2 separate regions of the Homo sapiens genome follow, and region 1 is linked to region 2. The links are contacts of gene promoters, found by promoter capture Hi-C in blood cells and fetal thymus (Javierre and others, 2016). All regions are on one chromosome and are shown on one strand. Each heading gives the region's core, a stretch centred on a gene start or on the middle of the fragment in contact. The rest is flanking DNA. Distances are from core to core; before and after follow the strand shown.

What was found. Contacts are between HindIII fragments. The CHiCAGO score rates a contact against its expected background, and 5 or more counts as called.
Region 1: a contact is called between a fragment that was not itself captured here and the fragment with the promoter of R3HCC1L in region 2, in 1 of 17 cell types (non-activated CD4 T cells). The highest score is 6.9, in non-activated CD4 T cells.

The regions. Positions count from the first base shown.
Region 1 is chr10:84,135,304-84,138,918 of GRCh38, forward strand. No RefSeq gene overlaps it. Among named protein-coding and RNA genes, the nearest start is that of GHITM, 2.4 kb to the right of the region's middle. RefSeq lists an enhancer at 3,574-3,615. The HindIII fragment of the contact is 2,338 bases long and covers 221-2,558 here.
Region 2 is chr10:98,133,291-98,136,785 of GRCh38, forward strand. It overlaps R3HCC1L (R3H domain and coiled-coil containing 1 like), which reads left to right and starts at 1,367. Exons shown (of 10, transcript NM_001351015.2): 1 at 1,367-1,416. RefSeq lists enhancers at 1,794-2,583, 1,926-2,065. The HindIII fragment of the contact is 1,235 bases long and covers 947-2,181 here.

The DNA of each region.
Region 1 (3,615 bases), core at 140-2,639, about 14 Mb before region 2:
TTATTGGAGGAGGGGCCTGGACAGAAGTGACTGGATCATGGGAGTGGATTTCTCTTGAATGGATTAGCACTATCCCCTTGGTGCTGTCCTTGAGATAGTGAGTTCTCAGGAGATCTGGTCATTTAAAAGTGTTTGGCCCTTCCCCGCCAACTCTCTCTCTCTTGCTCTTCCTTTTGCCATGTGATGTACCTGCCCCTCTTTGCCTTCTGCCATGATTGGAAGCTTCCTGAAGCCTCCCCAGAATCAGATGCCACTATGCTTCCTGTATAGCCTGCAGAATCATGGGCCAATTAAACCTCTTTTCTTATAAAATACCCAGCCTCGGGTATTTCTTTATAGCAGTGCAAGAACAACCTAATACCTTTTTCTTAAGAAAAGCTACTACAATTTCTGAGTGTTGGTTTCCTCTTGGAAGACTGACCAGAAAGCATGACACTAGTCTCAATTTTCTGCCAATATCTGTCCCTCCACAGATACTACCCCACTAATGACCTTGTCCTTTGGCCCACTTACAGCATTTAGTTGCACATATGTGAGGGGTATATATTGTCAGTTAGGTGAATGCAAAATTGAGCTACATTTTTCTTTAAACTGCCATCGATGTCATTTTCAAGGCCCCAGTCAGTTTAGAGCAGACAGCCTATTTATTCCATTTTGCAAGCTCAGAACAGTCTGACAATTTGTCTGTCAGTTTCAGGATTTATTACCATCAGTCACATTGGAGTTCAAAGTCCTTTCTCCTCTCCTGGGCCACAACTGGATTAGAAACATTTACATTAAACAGGAGGGGAAAAAGTGTAGCTTCTCTGTCCTTCCACTCTACCTCTTAGTCATTGCATTGTCATGCAGCTGCCGTTCAGCAAAATCTAAAGGGAGTAGTCCCCATGGCTTCATTGTCTTTCTGTGGCTGGCAGGATATAACTTTTGAAGTTGGCACAGTTTGATCTCTCACCCAAGCAGAGTCAAATGGCTCTGCCTTGTCATACACTAAATGGTCTGTTGGTGCCCATCTGGGCATCTCACCCACACATACTTCTAGTGTCGCCTCACTACTGAGCAGCATCTCGAAGGGTGCAAACAAGCAGGTGCGTGCTCACAATCACATTCTTGTGTTTATCTAGACCTTAGGGATTCCAAGGGAAAACAAGGCCAAGATGGGGAAGATCTTGTAACTTTCCTACCTGCTCTGTTGTCTGCCACTTAGCAACCACATGAGAAGCAGGTGCCAATTGGTCCCTACATTCAGAAACATCTGCAACCTTTCAGGAAGAAGCACCTTCCCTTTGTTGGGAGACTCCATCAGGGAGGGCAGAGGTTAAAGCCCCAGCAAACTCCCTTTCCAACTCTGTTTCATTCATACCACATCTTCTGATGGGAAAGCATAGTAGGGCAAGGTGAGAGCATTTATTTTAACTGAAAGTAAATAAAATATTTTATCTTTTGTCCTGGCTCTGAGTTTTCTCCACTATAATGCAGCATATCTCACTTAGCCAGCAAGTGGAGAATAAGGAATTCATCAGCAGACTGTAATAAAAACCGTGACATATATATAGTATTGGAATTTACGAATCATGTCTTTTCCTTTTTATTTACTTATTTATTCTTTTATTTTTTATTTTTTATTTTTTTGAAGTGGAGTCTCGCTCTGTTGCCCAGGCTGGAATGCAGTGGCACGATCTCGGCTCACTGCAAGCTCCACCTCCTGGGTTCATGCCATTCTCCTGCCTCAGCCTCCCGAGCAGCTGGGACTACAGGTGCCCACCGCCATGCTCTGCTAATTTTTTTTTTTTTTTTTTTTTTTTTTGGTATTTTTAGTAGAGACGGGGTTTCACCATGTTAGCCAGGATGGTCTCAATCTCCTGACCTTGTGATCTACCCGCCTCGGCCTCCCAAAGTGCTGGGATTACAGGCGTGAGCCACCACACACAGCCTACTTATTTATTTTTAAAGACAGCATCACCCTATGTTGCCCAGGCCGGCCTTAAGCTCCTGGGCTACCTCCCCAGTAACTGGGACTACATGCATGTGCCACCATTCCCGGCTTGTCCTTTTCTCTATCCTACACTCTAAGAACTTAGAAGCAGAGAACTTAACAATTAAACACTTCAAACTAAGTTTTATGTATCTACTTCCCCTCACTTGTATCTCTCCCTGTATCCTATTGCTAAATTAATGATAAAATTATCCACCCAGTTCAGAAGGATTACTCAGGGAGCCTTCCTCATTCTTATCAGCTATATTTGACCGACCATTCAATCCTGCAAACTCCACTTCAGCAATATATCTCTGTCATAAACCCCTCTGTGTCTTTCTACTGGCTTAATTCCAGCCTTTATTGCCTTTTGGTTGAACAACTACAATAAATTCCTAATTGGTCTCCTGGTCCATGGAACCTCTCCCTTCCTACACTGCCACAAGAGCATATATTTCCCAATGATATGACCAGATTCCTCCCCTGCTTCAAAATATTTGACCCCTGTGGAAACAACAATACAAGCCCTTTACTTGAGAAAGGAAAATATGAAATCAGACATTTTTCTTCCAATATGGAGAGAATAAGCTTTAATAGGAATCTTGAAGAAAGCTTGAGTCATTGACTTCAAGATCTTTATTCTGGTACTGTGTTGTAAATCCTTTCTCTTTGCTGATAACAGAAGCTCTAGAAAAAAAGACTATCACTGAAGGAGCCAAACAGAAAACCTATTTGCTAGCTAATAAAATTGGGCATAGATCAAAATAAAAATTAAACTGATCATGCTTGATCTGTTCAGTTTCGTGAGATTTCTCTAGTGTTTTCCTGCCATTTTCAGCGTAAAGAGATAAGAATTGTGTTGCTGCCAGACTCTTTTATTATCCACATAGAAGGCAAGTCTTTATATTTGTCAAGGTTTACATGATTAGGAATCATAAATCACAATTAACTACTGCTTAGGAGATAAAGGTTCATGAATTTTGCATGTTGTTAATCACCTTATCACCCTTTCAGGGTTTTAATCTGCTCTTTCTTCATGGTATTAAGTTATCACATTATATTTTTTCTATGTTCTGTCTCTACCAGAAAGTAAAGCCACAGAGCAAGGACTTTATTTTGTTAAAATAGTGGTAGCACACACGGGTTTAATTCATTTGCTGTTTTTTTGTTTTTGTTTTTTTGGTTTCTTTTTTTTTTGAGACTGAGTCTCCCTCTATCGCCCAGGCTGGAGTGCAGTTGCGGGATCTGGGCTCACTGGAACCTCCGCCTCCTGGGTTCAAGTGATTCTCCTGCCTTAGCTTCCCAAGTAGCTTAGATTACAGGCACCAATCACGCCTGGCAAATTTTTGTATTTTTAGTAGAGACAGGGTTTCCCCACGTTGGCCAGGCTGGTCTCGAACTCCTAACCTCAAGTGATCCACCCGCCGCGGCCTCCCAAAGTACTGGGATTACAGGCTTGAGCCACCACGCCCGGCTGATTCATTTGTATATATTTCTAGAACAGAGCTTGGTACGAAGTTGAGCATTCAGTAAATATCTGTTGAAATAGAGGGAGAGTGAAAAAGAAAGTAACTCTCTCGCGTATTCCACAACTAGCTCTTCACCTATCAAATTACGCGCAATGGAAACATCTTAGTCCTCAG
Region 2 (3,495 bases), core at 117-2,616:
ATTGTACTCTGTTCTGTTTCACTCTGACTACCACTGCATGAAGCCCCTGTCACATACACCCCAGATTGCTCAATCAATCACGACCCTTTCATGTGAAATCTTTAGTGTGGTGAGCCCTTAAAAGGGACAGAAATTGTGCACTCGGGGAGCTTGGATTTTAGGACAGTAGCTTGCCGATGCTCCCAGCTGAATAAAGCCCTTCGTTCTACAACTTGGTGTCTGAGAGGTTTTGTCTGCGGCTCGTCCTGCTACAATAGAATCTCCAAGATTTGGTGACCATTTGAATATTGGAGGAAGAGGAAGTGAGAAAGGAGGAATCAGGTTAAAGAGTGAATATTAATGAGTAGGGAGGAGGGGTAGTAGTTTACTTTTCTTTTTTTGGGGGACGGAGTCTCCCTGTGTTGCCCAGGCTGGAGTGCAGTGGTGCAATTTTGGCTTACTGCAACCTCCGCCTCCCGGGTTCAAGCGATTCTCCTTCAAGCAATTCTCCTGCCTCGGCCTCCTGGGTAGCTGGGATTACAGGTGCCCACCACCACGCACAGCTAATTTCTGTACTTTTAGTAGAGACAGGGTTTCACCATGTTGGTCAGGCTGGTCTCGAACTCCTGACCGCAGGTGATCCACCTGCCTTGGCCTCCCAAAGTGCTGGGATTACAGGCATGAGCCACTGTTCCTGGCCCCAGTAGTTCACTTTTCAAGGACACTGGAGATGCCTGTGGGCATGGATGAGGAGAGGTCTTGTCTAGGAAGTTGGGAATACAAACAATGAGCTCAGGTGAGAAGGGACTGGAGTGTCCCCTCTCCCACCCCAATTTTAAGAACTCTGGAAAACACCAATATTTTAGAGGTAAGTTAGAGGAAACAAAGTAGAATGAATTCAGAGAAGGAAAACCTGGATAGTGTCATAGAAAATAAGTGATAATGCCCAATAGCGTCAAATGACTAAAGCTTGAGTTAGATGAGTCCGGAAATACCTCCAATGAGTTTGGCAACAAGGACACTTATGACAACAAGGCATTTTCCATGGGGGCGGAAGCTGCGATGAGGAGTGAACACAGATGAGCAAGTAGAGACAGTGTAGATTATCTTTTTCAAAAAACTTGGCTGTGAACGGAGGAAGTGAGATGGTATAATTGAGTGGAATGTAAGGAGATTTGCGCACGTATATAGCCGAGAGGAATGAGGAAGGGTTGAAGGGACAGGAGCAGAAATGCTCTCCGGCACTCGCCATTTTGCCAGCTTCTCCCCTACGTGACCTGAACTCAGTGGGCGCGGCCGGGCCTCGCGGAAACTACAACCCCCAGAAGGCCCCACGGCGTTGGGGGCGGAGCCGAGGCCTGACGCGCGCCCCAGCGGCGCGAGCGGAAGAGATAGAGCTTCGCGGAGACGGCGGAAGCGGAGAGCAACAGCGCGCCGGTAACAACCAGCCCCGTATCCCCTCCCTCTGTACCTCAAGCTAGGATTTTTAATCCCCACTTCTCCCTTCACAGCCCGGGACAAGACTTCCATTCCGTCGTTTGTTGCTGGTATTTTTTTTCCTCATGTGACGCGAGGGGCCGCCCCCTGCCTGGGGCGGAGGTTACTGGGAAGCTCCCGCCTTCTGACCCCTGCGGGCCCGCGGTTGAGAGGGACCCTCCCGGGGCTCTTTTGCACTCACTGGGGCTCGTGCTCGCTTTGGGCGCTCGCCCCAAATGATCCTGGCGGAAAGGACGTGCTTTTTCTGGGTTTCAACAGGTATTGAGCGGGGTCCCTGGTTACCCCCTCGGGGCTGCGGGGCCGTGGGCCCCCAGGGCTGCCGGCGGTTTCCGGGCTTCGCTTCGAGCCTCGCCTTTGAGCCTCCTCCGCTGCCCGGGAGCCCCGGGCTACGGGCTGGGAGTGAGCAATCTATAAAGGAGCATGTACTTCCTGCTTTTTCTTGGCAGGCCTGCGAAAAACCCCAAGTCCGATCTTTAAAGTTTGTGAGTGCAGCCCCCTCTCAGTTGTGTACGGGAAGGAGCACAGGATTTGGAGTCTGATATCCTGGGGGAAGTCTCAGTCCGCCACTTGGCTGGACCTGTGATCTTTTGTACAGTAGTCTGTTTAGCGCAGCCTCGGTTTCGTTGTCTGAAAAGTGGGGTTAATGTTCTTTGCCCTGCGGCCTTCCAGGGTTGTGGGCTTCAGCAGAAGTGATATTCCTGCGAAAGCTTTGAACTCTAAAGTATGTTTCGGGTATAACCTTGCCATCCCCCAGTCTCCAGTCTAGGTCAGTTGAGTTTTAAAACCAGGTTCATGTCTATACGAAGATCAAATTAGTTAATAAATAGGGGGAAAGTGTCTTTGGAAACGAATCTGAACCATACAGATGTTTTTATGCCAGGTTCCTAGTGAAGAGGTGACCTTAGGGCGTTACCACCTGTGGAGTCAATTTAAAACTTCATCTGGATTTTAAGGCCCACCAGAATTTAGACTCTTCTTCCTCAGCACACACAACTATCTCTTGCTGTTATAACCTTCCTTCAGTATCACACAGGTACAAGCATAAAGCAGTAAACGTTCCTCAGATATGGTTGTACTACAACTAATACCTGTCCCCAGCAGGTCTTGTGTCTTGTGTCACAGTTGAAATTCAGAATATAAATAGCCAAATATCCCATCTGTTTAATTTTTTTTGACATTAAGCTTTGAGACTAAGCAAGTTGCTTATTGTCTTATTTTTCCCCTTACAGAGAATGCTAATTCTGCAATCAGTTTTTTTTTTTTTTTTGGGTAGAATCAGGATTTCACTATGTCGCCCAGATTGGTCTAACTCCTGGGCTCAAATGATCCTCCCGCCTCGACCTCCCAAAGTGTTGGTATTACAGGCGTTTGACACTGTGCCCACTGTGCCCGACCTCTGCGATTAATTTTTAAAGGGGTAAGAAAGTGTAGTTAGGTATTTTTAGTCTGTGTTTATTCTGAATTTATTGATTGAAGAATACTTGAAAATGGTCCAAAAAACAAGAGAGGATGACAGTAAGTTGCATTAGCTTAGTGTACAAATTCGAGCAAATTTGAGTTCAAGTCCTGGTGCTGTGTCTTACTACAGGTTGGAGTATCCTTATCTGAAATGCTTGGTACCAGAGTGTTTCAAATTTCAGATTTTGGTATATTTGCATATACATAGTTAGATATCTTTGGGATGGGACCCCAATCTAAACATGAAATTGATTTAGGTTTCATATATACCTTATATACATAGCCTAAAGGTAATTTTATATAGTATTTTTAATAATTTAATAATTTGTGTCCAGACGCGGTGCCTCACGCCTGTAATCCTAGCGCTTTGGGAGGCTGAGGCAGGCAGATTGCCTGAGCTCAGGAGTTCAAGACCAGCCTGGGCAACATAATGAAACCCCATCTCTATTAAAAGTACAAAAAATTAACCAGGTGTAGTGGTGCACGCCTGTAGTCCCAGCTACTCGGGAGGCTGAGGCGCGAGAATCGCTTGAGTCCTGGAGGTGGAAGTTGCAGTGAGCA